2 separate regions of the Homo sapiens genome follow, and region 1 is linked to region 2. The links are contacts of gene promoters, found by promoter capture Hi-C in blood cells and fetal thymus (Javierre and others, 2016). All regions are on one chromosome and are shown on one strand. The core of a region is centred on a gene start or on the middle of the fragment in contact, and the rest is flanking DNA. Distances in the headings are between cores, read along the strand shown.

Region 1 (6,123 bases), core at 802-3,301, 550 kb after region 2:
ATATTTCTGAAAAGGTAAGAACCAGCACAACATCTGTGAAATAAAAACATATATAGAATTTTAAAATGTATCCACCCCAACAACAAGTTTTACAGATAAAAGTATCCACCATTTTGTAATCATACTGATGGAGAGCTGGAAGGAGAGATTTGAGATAAATGGGAAGAAATACGTATTGTATAGAAAAATGACGAGAATTTGCCATGAATTGAAGAGCATCGTTAACTCAAACATTAGCACCTAAGGTCCAAAAAATTTATTAATTAACATTTTCAAAAGTATTTGTCAAACTGGCTAACCTGATCACAGAGTTCAAATGGAAAAAAATAGGAACTCGAGGGAAAAAAAACTGTAAACACAAAGTAATGAGACAGAACAAACTCTACCAAATATTAAAGTGTTTTTAAAAGTAGACTTCATGCTGCTCATGTAGGACTACATAATAAATGGAACAAAATGAAGGCAACAAATAAAACCATATATATACATACATGCCTAAGATAGGCATATATATATATGGTTTTATTTGTTGCCTTAAAATACATATATATATAGTGTATACACTATATATAGTATGTGTGTGTGTATATATATATACACAAACACTATATATATATACACTATATATATACACTATATATATATATATACACACACATAGTTTCTTGTGAATTTGTTGTTATTTAGAATCATGACACAAGGACAAAATATTCATTAAACTTGGTTGGGACAATTAGACATTTGGAGAAAAAATAGATTCCAACATAGATTTCAAAGGGAAAAATTTCTAAATGTGAAAAATATTGATAAAATGTTAAACTTTTAAAAATATATAAGCCTATTAAAATAAGTCAAACAAGAGTTTTGCATTTTACTATTAGAGTATAAAATGGTTTTTAAATATTTTTTTAAGAAACACAAACAGGAATTATAAAAGAAAAAATTAATAAATTTGGTGACAAATAAATGAACCAAAAATAAAAATAAAGTCCAAGACAATGCGAGGCAACATTTTGCATAACAGAAAAAAGAAATAATTTTCTTAATATGTAAAGAGTTTTTATAAGTAAATAAGAAAACTAGTACGACCCAAAGTAGAAAAAACAAATTACGCAAAAACTGACTTCACAGAAAAATAGATATGGATGGCTCATCGGCAGGTGAAAACAGTGCTCAACTTTACCCACATTTAAAGTTATGTTCATTAAAATAACAAAATATTATATTGCATCTATCAGATTGGCAAATGTTTTAGTTTCATAATAGGCACTTCTGGGGAGGTTATGAGGAAATTTGGTATTCTCAAAATCTGTGTATAGCAGTAGATTTCCCAAGAGCTATTGAATTGTAAAACTCAAATGGTCTTTGGCTCAGCAGTTGCACTTCTAGGAATCTGCTCTACAAAGATGACATGTCAGCAATGATCATCGTACACCGATATTCAACACATCATGTCTTTTATACCAAAAGGCTGGAAAGTATAAAAACACGCGTTGATAAGAGAATGTTTTGATAAATCATAATATTAGATTGGTCCAAAAGTCATTGCGGTATTTGCCGTTAATTCTCCAAGCAGCCCTGTGGGACAGCAATTCCCCACACCCCCAATTTACAAAGGAGAAAAGTTGTTCAGAAAAGGGAATTGATTTTACTAAGCTTGCATAGCAAGTTAGTGGGGAAATAAATATGGACTCCCAGACCATTCTGTCCCCAAAGCATGCAATGTTACCCTTGCTAGCCTGTTTCTGGGCTCTACTCCTATTCCCACTAGGCAACAATGGCAGAATCATCAAAAAGATCCTCCCCTTTTCCCCCACCTGGGGAGAAGAACCAACGAGAAGGACTCAGAAAGGCAGAAAGGCAGAGCCACCAGCACCTGCACTCACCATTCAATCTCTTTAGGCTCACGGTCCTTCAGAAGCTCTTGCACCTCCTGCCGGCAGCGTTCTTGGTATTCTGGGTGCCTCGCGAGGTTGTACAAGACCCAGGAGAGGCCACTGGCCGTGGTGTCATGGCCTGAGGGTCAGCCAGGCAGGCTTGAGTCTCTGGGCTGCTTCAGCACCCAGAGGGTGGACAGCGCCCATACATTGAGGCTCTCAGGAAGGTTGAGGGGAGGGGGAGGTTGGGCAGAATGAAGTGATTCAGGGCCGGCCCTCCACTTCCCTGGAGTGGAGAGACCCCTGTCCCCACTGTAGCCCCAGACTGGGACACTCACCTCCAAACATGAAAGTGTCAGCTTCTGCTCTTATGTCCTCATCTGACAACTCTTTACCATTTTTATCCTGGAGACAAGAACCCCAATCACACTAGTTCTGGGGTCACTGGAGTCTAAACTGAAACAGTCTCTGAAGACCCATTATCCCAGAAGGATCCCTCCCTTGTCACCTCCAGATCTACCCCCACATGCTTCCTTCCGACCTCCTGTTTGTTCTTCCCAGGAAGCTTTCTATGCAATCACCTCTAAAATTTATCTGACTTGTCCCTCCCTTCTTCGAGCACCTTCCATGGCTCCTTAGTGCCCTCTGTATCAAGTCCGGTCCTTCAATCTGACATTTGACCTGAAGCTCCATTTTACCTCTTGAATTCAGATCCCAGAGAGGCCCACCTCGCTCAGCAGGAGCACATCAATAAAGTCCAAAGTCTTGGACTTGGCCTTGGCTTGGAGGAAGTCATCAACACCCTGGCTAGTGAGGGTGCGGCGCCGCTCCTGGATGACGGCATCTGTGAAGTCGTGCACCAGTCTGCAGGCCCTGTGGAAGCGCCGTCCACAGGGAGTGAGGAAGTACAGGAAGTCCTTGTACCGGAAGAACTGGTTATTCCGTTTCACTACAAGGGCACTGAGCTCCATGATCGCAGTAATATATTCACTGGGCTTCCTGCAGGGCCAGTCCAGAGAGAGGAAGCAGCTCCTTACCCACATGAAAGCCTGGGAGCACCTTCCAGCCAGAATCCCAGGACCACATTCCATGCAGAAAGGGGTGTCCTGCAAGCGCACTTCACTCTCTGCCTCCCACTCTCTGTGAGCTGCCTCCTGCCCCAGGTCCCCAGGGCACAGCTTGGCCATCATGGGCATCTCCTCTCTCTGTCTTATAAAACATCTGCTCCTGCCTATTATTACTCAGTTTCTCCCAAATCTGCCCCATTTTCTCCACCAAACTCAGACCTCCTCTCCCTGGCATCCTTGCATGCTGTGTCTACATGACAGTCAATCTTCCATAGAGTCCCATAGAGTCCAGTGTCCAAGCTCAGTACTGACCATGTCTCTCATCTGCTCAAACACCTCCATGGCTCCTTAGGAACCTTGGATAAAATGCATCTCCCTTTGTCTGACTTTTCAAGATCCTTAAGATCTAGTTAACTGCCAACCCCTCCACCTTCATTTCCAAGTGTCTCCCAACTGCCTGTTGCACATGCTCTGTTCATCTTAGCCTCCTTGCCTTGACCCAAACAGTTCCACTTGTTTGGAGGAAACTTCTCTTTCTCTCGCTCTCTCTCTCTCTCCTTCTCTCCTTCTTTGTCCTTCAATGCCTAGTTCTCATCATCTCTCCAGGAAGGCTCTTCTTGTCTCCCTGGGCTTTGCTCTCCCCACACCCACACCCCCACTCCATCCCATGTTCCCAGGCCCTGGGCAAGAACTCACTCCTGACAATTGCTGTCAAAGCTGAAGATGCATTTCTGCAGACTGTCCAGGGTCATAAGGCTGATGTGCTCAAACACATCCAGACAGGTGCTGCCCTCCATGGCCAGGCGTTGCCACTTGGCCTGGCCAGAGAAGGGAGCAGGGCTGGGGCCAGGCCTTGGCTCCTCTGAGTCCCCCTGCAACCCCAACCACCAGGATGGACTCCCCCAGAGGCATGCTCCTGGTTTTCTGTCCCAGACCCCCATCCTCAGGGAGGACTACGCTTGGGTGAGAGTGGAAGCTGTTACTATTAGGAGATGAAGATCCCATGGCTGGGTTCAAGCCCCAGCTGTGATTCCTAAGCTGTGTGTACCCTTGGTCAACTCACAGCCCTCCTCTAGGTCTCACCTGTCAAATCCTCAATAGCAATCAAGATGACCTGCTTTGATGCCAGGGAGCCAGGCTAGAACCCCTTTTCCCCCACTCTTAGACTCACTGACAAGCTGGGTGAACTTGGGAAATCTCTCTAACCTCTCTGGCCCTCAGTTTCACCATTTGTCATGGCATGGGGGAGAGGGTGGAAAATATCCTCTACTTCACAAGGCGGTGTAAATTAAATGAGACCACATACACCATGGAATAGGCATATTACATCATTTCTGTCATATGATGAGTTCTCAATAAATATTATCTTGATTCATCTTCATTGTTATAAATTGATTACAAAAAGTCCCTGTGATCCCCCTGAACATTTTTTTCTGAGCATGCCAAGAATGCAAAACTCTGAAGTTTTGTTGTTGTTGTTGTTTGTTTGTTTTGTTTGTTTGCTAGTTTTTGAGATGGAGTCTCGTTCTGTTGCCCAGGCTGGAGTGCAGTGGCACAGTCTTGGCTCACTGCAACCTCTGCCTGCTGGGTTCAAGCAATTCTCCTGTCTCAGCCTCCTGAGTAGCTGGGGTTACAGGCACGCACCACCACGCCCTGCTAATTTTTGTATTTTTAGTAGAGACAGGGTTTTGCCATGTTGGCCAGGCTGGTCTCGAACTCCTGACCTCAAGTGATACCAATGTGCTGGGATTACAAGCATGAGCCACCACACCCGGTCAACCCTGAGGTTCTTAATCTGGGCTATTTCTCAGCATTGTGTTTGCAGAGAACAGCCTTGGGGTATAAGGTAATGGCTCCTCTGGGACACACGTTAGGCTTATTCTGCTTGCTCTAAAAGCTGATTCTCTAAGCCTAATGCTCCTCCCCATCATGCAAATATACTACATGGCAGGCATCTATAGAAGCCCACCTTATCACCCCAGGGAATTTGGGTGGCTTAGAGAAAGGATCCAAACCAACAAGATGCACATGCCACTTGCTGAGACATGAGTAATAAACTTTTGTCTTTGACCCAGAAGTCTCGTGTCTTCTGGCAGAATCCATGCAAAAGTAACAAGCTAATTTATTAGCTCACAGGAGAAAAAAAAATCCTAGTCGTTTCACAAAACGCTTGGCTCCATTTCTTCTCTTCTCCCTGCATCCACATCTTTTGCAATGTGATTTTTTAGCAACTTCCATTAAGAGATGGAGCCTATTTTGCCCCACATTGATTCATGGTGGACGTTTTACTTTTTTTGGCCAATAGAATGTGGTGAAAATGATAAGGCCATAACTAGTGAGAAGTTGACTGGGTGCAGCAGCCCATGCCTGTAATTCCAGCATTTTGTGAGGCCGAGGAGGGCAGATCACTTGACGTCAGGAGTTCAAGACCAGCCTGCCCAACATGGTGAAACCCTGTCTCTACTGAAGATACAAAAAATTAGTTGGGCATGGTGGTGGGCGCCTGTAATTCCATCTACCCACGAGGCTAAGACAGGAGAATTGCTTGAGGCGGGGGTTGCAGAGAGCCAAGATCGCACCACTGCACTCCAGCCTGGGAGACAAAGCGAGACTTCATCTCAAAAATAAAATAAATAATAATAACTAGTGAGAAGCATTGTATCCTCCTCTCACTGCCTTGGAATCCTGTCTCTGCCATGTGAGCAATCCTGGGGTGTCATCTAGAGGCAGAGAATCACATGGAGAAAAGTCCAGGTGTCCCAGCTGAGGCCATCCTAAATCAGCCAGAAGCCAGCAAAGCTCCAAATATGTGAGAGAACTGAGCTGGCACAAGCAAAGCTGCCTACCTGACCCACAGCTGCTCTTATACCATGAGGGATCCTATCCACATGCAGAAGGGCTGGCCAACAGTCCCACAGATTTGTTAGCAAATATAAACCCTTATTGCTCTAAACCAATTAGTTTTGAAGTGATCTGTACTCAGCAATGACTACTATGCACGTGTCATCATTCCTTTCTTGAGTTTACAGGGCTTCTGTGAGAAAAATGTGGAAATTGACTCCTTCTGACCACCTACTAAGTGTCAGAGACATGAGTCCATTACATGCTCCTACCACCTTTTAGTGAGGATTATTAGCCTCATGGGGAAATCAAGGCACAGAGAGGAAGAGCAATGGCCC
Region 2 (5,589 bases), core at 1,530-4,029:
AAATTGATCAGAAGGTACAGAGATTTCCCGTACACCTGCTGCTTTCATACTTGTATAGCTTCCCCTACAATCAACATCCTCCACATGCAAGTGCATGACAGTAGCTAGTCTGTTACAATTGATGAACTGACACTGATACATCATTATCACCCACAGTGGTTAGTGGATAGTTTACATTAGGGGTCACTCTCAGTTGAACATAGGTTTTTATTTCCCTTGGGTAAACACCCAGGAGTCTTTTTTTTTTTTTTTTTTTGAGACAGGATCTCACTCTGTCTCCCAGGCTGGAGTGCAGTACAGTGGAGTGATCATAGCTCACTTCATCCTCGACCTCCCTACCTCAAGCAAACCTCCCAAGTAGCTGGATACCACCAAACCTGGCTAATTTTTGTATTTTTGTAGAGATGGGGCTTCACCATGTTGCCTAGGCTGGTCTCCAACTCCTGGGCTAAAGTGGTCCTCTTGCCTTGGCCTCCCAAAGTGCTGGGATTACAGGCATGAGCCACCATACCAGGCCCTGAATCTTGTGGTAAGGTTAAGTTTAATTCTATTTAAAAAAAACCCAGCCAACCTATTTTCCAGAGTGTCTATACCATTTTGCATCAACACCAGCAATGTATGAGCATTCCAGTTGCTCCATACCCTCACCAACACTTGATATTGTTTATTTTTTGAAAGTTATTCTTGGATGGCTGGGCATGGTGGTTCATGCCTGTAATCCCAGCACTTTGGGAGGCTAAGGTGGGTAGATCACTTGAGGCCAGGTGTTCAAGACCAGCCTGGGCAACATAGACAGACCCTGTCTCCACAAAAAATACAAAAAAAAAAAAATTAGCCGGATGTGGCAGCATGTGCCTCTAGTGCCAGCTACCTGGGAGGCTGAGGAAGGAGGGTCGCTGCAGTGAGCCATGATTGTATCACTGCTCTCCAGCCTGGGTGACAGAGTGAGACCCTGTCTCAAAAAAAAAAAAAAGTCATCCTTGAGGCATCTTTCAAGCCTGATCAGGGTCACATTTTACAAGATGACTGCACAGATTTGGCAGAGGATGCTTGATGAGGCCGAGGCAGGAAAGCCTGCTGGGAAACATTGCAATAGTCCAGGCCAGGTAGAGAAAACACAGGTGAGACCCAAAGTGAGAAGGGCATGGAGGGCCAGGCTAAGAAATTTAGACTCTCAGATTCTCCACCCAAGAGGATTCTGGGCCTTAATAAAGTTGGTAGCTGCTACATTAGATCTGCCCTTTGGGCCGGGCGAGGTGGCTCACACATGTAATTCCAGCACTTTGGGAGGCCGAGGCGGGTGGATCACCTGAGGTCAGGAGTTCGAGACCAGCCTGGCCAACATAGTGAAACTCTGTCTCTACTAAAAATACAAAACTTAGCCAGGCGTGGTGGTGGGCGCCTGTAATAATCCCAGCTACTCGGGAGGCTGAGGCAGGAGAATGGCCTGAACTCGGGAGGTGGAGCTTGCAGTGAGCCGAGATCACGCCACTGCACCCTAGACTGGGTGACAGAGCGAGACTCCGTCTCAAAAAAAAAAAATACAAAAAAAATTAGCTTGGCATGGTGGACACCTGTGGTCCCAGCTACCTGGGATGCTGAGGCAGGAGAATCACTTGAACCTGGGAGGCAGAGATTGCAGTGAACCGAGATCACACCACTGCACTCCAGCCTGGGCAACAGAGTGAGACTGTCTCAAAAAAATAAAATGTAATAAAATAATAATGTCAATGCACACCCCAGAACTTCATCTAGCTTGTTCACCATTATGTTCCCAATGCAGTGATGCAATCATGGCTCACTGCAGCCTCAAACTCCTGGGCTCAAGCAATCCTCCCACCTCAGCCTCCTGAGTAGCTGGGACCACAGGCATGCACCACCACATCCAGCTAATTTTTGTATTTTTAGTAGAGATAGGGCCTTGCCATGCTGCCCAAGCTGATCTTGAACTCCTGGCCTCAAGTGAATCTCATGCTTTGTCCTCCTAAAGTGCTGGGATTACAGGTATGAGCCACCTCGCCCAGCCAAAACCTTTTTTTTTTTTTTGGAGATGGAGTCTTACTCTGTCACCCAGTCTGGAGTGCAATGGCGGGATCTCGGCTCACTGCAACCTCCACCTCCTGGGTTCAAGCAATTCTCCTGCCTCAGTCTCTGGAGTAGCTGGGATTACAGGCATGTGTCACAATGCCAAGCTAATTTTTGTATTTTTAGTAGAGATGGGGTTTTGCCGTGTTGGCCAGGCTGGTCTTGAACTCCTGACCTCAGGTGATCCGCCTGCCTGGCCCTCCCAAAGTGCTGGGATTACAGGTGTGAGCCACCTTGCCCAGTCAAAACCTTTTTTTTTTTTTTTTAAATCTCAGATCCTGAGAATGACCCTATGAGGTAGGTATAATGTAATTTTCATCTCATGAATGAGGTTCAGAGAAGTCAGGTGACTTGCCCAGGGCCACACAGCTAGTGGGCAGAGAGCTGGGATTTGAGCTGCAGTGTGCCCATAGCCCTTCTGTATACCCTGCCTGTCTCTTGAGTGTGCCCCATAACCCCAGCCTCACCTTGTGGTGGCAGATGTGGCCTCCCCACTGAGGTCTTCTCTGTGACATCCCACAGCCCTTATCCTTACCCATGGACACATTCAGGCTGTTGTCCAGAGAGCCTGGCTGTAATTTGAGTCTCATCAAGCAGGGGGTGATGGCGTAGGTGGGTGGGTGACAGCCAGGGCAGGGAGATTTGCCCAGACACTGGTACACAACAGCCTGGCAACCCGTGTGGCCCCGAGGAAGCTGGGAGCCTTTGGGGTGCATCCCCAAGTCTGGGCTGTGGTTCACACCATGGGCAACAAGCAGACAGTCTTCACACACGAGCAGCTGGAAGCGTATCAGGTAGAGGGGGGCAGGATGGGTCCTCAGTGGGTTTGACAACTTTGGTTCCGTGGTCTGGGAAATGGGAACAGAATGCCTTCATCTGGGTGTACCGTCCGCCTGGGTTCCTGGTTCTGCTCTGTGTGTGGCAGCATCAGGCCATCTGTGTGAGTGTGGGGTGGAGGGAGGAGGCCGTGGGAGGAGGCCCCAGAGGCAGGGTTCGGGTTAAGACAACACCTCTCTCCACAGGACTGCACATTTTTCACAAGGAAGGAGATCATGAGGTCAGTCCAGGGAGGAAGGGAGAGAAGATCTGGAAAAACAACTTTCTATTCATTGCTGGAGGATATTTGCAATTTGGTGTGTGTGTGTGTGTGTGTGTGTGTGTGTGTGTGTGTGTGTGTAAGTAGTCTTTCTTTCTTTCTTTCTCTTTTCTCTCTCTCTCTCCCTCCCTCCCTCCCTTCCTTCCTTCCTTCCTTCTTTTCTTTTTTTTTGAGACAGGGTCTGTCTCTATTGCCTGGGCTGGAGTGCAGTGGTGCAATCATGGCTCATTGCAGGCTCGATCTCCCAAGGTCAGGTGATCCTCCCACCTCAGCCTCTCGAGTAGCTAGGACCACTGGTGCGAGCCACCACATGTACCTCATTTTTGTATTTTTTTATAGAGATGGGGCTCTCACTATGTTGCCCAGGCTGGTCTTAAACCCTTGGGCTCAAGCGATCCCCCTGCCTCAGCCTCCCAAAGTGCTGGGATTACAGGTGTGAGCCACCATGCCCAACTGGTATTTCCAATTTGTTGGGACTCAAATGGGGAAGGGGGGCAGGTGTGGTCAGTGGACAGAGGCAGAGATGGAGAAGCTGACAAGTCACATCTTGTCATACTGTCCCAGTCTCTAGGCTGATGAGCTTGGGCTTTCTCCCAAGGGTGGCAGGGAGCTATGGAGCATGCATGAGCAGGGGAGAGACCATCAGCACGTTAGAAAGATTCTCCTGAGGCTGGGCGCGGTGGCTCATGCCTGTAATCCCAGCACTTTGGGAGGACAAGGTGGGTGGATCACCTGAGGTCAGGAGTTTAAGATCAGCCTGGCCAACATGGTGAAACCCCATCTCTGCTAATAATACAAAAATCAGCTGGGCGAGGTGGTGGGTGCCTGTAATCCCAGCTACTCAAGAGGCTGAGGCAGGAGAATTGCTTGAACCTGGGAGGTGGAGGTTGCAGTGAGCCGAGATCACGCCACTGTGCTCCAGCCTGGGTGACAGAGCTAGACTCTGCCTCAGAAAAACAAAATGAAAGATAAAGATTCTCCTGAGACTGGGACTTGAGGCTGGGAGCCCAGGTGCAAAGTCCAGAGCCCAGTCTGGGTTGTGGGCTTGGCATTAAGATGAGGGTGTGAGGAGGTGGCCCAAGGCTGCTGCAGGTCCCTGGCGTGACCCAGCACGATGGGCACAGATGAGTATCCCACATCATCACTCGGCCTGTGGGGCCATTGCCCAGGGGCCCCGACCCATGAACTTGGAGCTATGAAACCCAAGCTGGCCAGGGTTCAGCTGCAGTGTGATCGGGGCCAAGGCCCCAGTTGTGTAGTAACAGGACATCCATTATTGATGGCCACACCTTTTACTAGTGAGCCCCATTGTTTGGGTGAGGACAGCTTGCAGGGTCACCTCGGCCATCACGATCAAATTACTGATGGGGAAACTGAGGCTCAGACAGGGCGGGGCTGATCCCAGGCTGAAGGGTAAATGCACAGAGCCCCAAGGCCCCAAGGACAGACATTTTGTCTGTCCCAAGCTTCTTGCTTATCAGATAGAATAACCAAGGCACAGAGAGGGAGAGGAGAGGAACATGCTCAGAGCCACACAGAAACCTAAACCCAGGGTATTCCCTGATGGGACCCCGACAGGGAACTGAGTGGTCAGGATGAAAGTTCTAGGTCTCCCCACCCCACCTTCATTGAGTTCCTAGTCATCATATGACCTAGGGACTCATGTCTCTCTCAGAGACAGTCCCTAGCAGCTTGGGGACCTCAGACCCACCAAGGATGGTCTCTGCAAGGCTGCTGCTCAGCATGCCCTAATGAAGGTATGGTGTCACAGGTGAGGGCTTCTGAGTGGAGAACTGGCCTTATAATCTGGATAGTGTGTGTGGTATTCAGTTATTTGCAAAATATCTTTTGTCTGCCCTTTAGAAAAAATGTGACTATTAGCTGTTTGTCTCTGCTCTGCCCCATTGAGGAATCCCTCCTTTTTTTTCTTTCTTTCTTCTTTTCTTTCTTTCTTTTTTATTTTTTATTTATTTATTTTTTTTATTGAGACCGAGTCTCATTCTGTTGCCCAGGCTGGAGTGCACTGGCTTGATCTCGGTTCACTGCATGCTGCGCCTCCCGGGTTCACACCATTGTCCTGCCTCAGCCTCCGGAGTAGCTGGGACTACAGGCGCCCACCACCACGCCTGGCTAAATTTTTATATTTTTAGTGGAGACGGGGTTTCACCATGTTAGCCAGGATGGTCTTGATCTCCTGTCCTCGTGATCCACCTGCCTCGGCCTCTCAAAGTGCTGGAATTACAGGCGTGAGCCACCGCGCCCGGCCTCTTTCTTTCTTTTTTCTTTTCTTTTTTTTTTTTGAGACAGAGTCTCGTTCTTGTTGCCCAGGCTGGAGTGCAGTGACACGATCTCAGCTCACTGCAACCTCCAGCTCCCAGGTTCAAGTGATTCTCCTGCCTCGGCCTCCC

Evidence for each region. Contacts are between HindIII fragments. The CHiCAGO score rates a contact against its expected background, and 5 or more counts as called.
Region 1: a fragment that was not itself captured here is called in contact with the fragment with the promoter of CIB3 in region 2 in 3 of 17 cell types (naive CD8 T cells, total CD8 T cells and total CD4 T cells); the score reaches 8.8 in naive CD8 T cells.

What each region holds. Positions count from the first base shown.
Region 1 is chr19:15,619,858-15,625,980 of GRCh38, reverse strand. CYP4F8 (cytochrome P450 family 4 subfamily F member 8) reads right to left here. Exons shown (of 13, transcript NM_007253.4): 6 at 3,641-3,762; 7 at 2,606-2,876; 8 at 2,216-2,282; 9 at 1,887-2,016. Among named protein-coding and RNA genes, the nearest start is that of CYP4F8, 7.7 kb to the right of the region's middle. The HindIII fragment of the contact is 786 bases long and covers 1,659-2,444 here.
Region 2 is chr19:16,170,715-16,176,303 of GRCh38, reverse strand. It overlaps CIB3 (calcium and integrin binding family member 3), which reads left to right and starts at 2,779. Exons shown (of 6, transcript NM_054113.4): 1 at 2,779-2,879; 2 at 3,108-3,142. The coding sequence starts at 2,829. The HindIII fragment of the contact is 19,742 bases long and covers 1-4,649 here.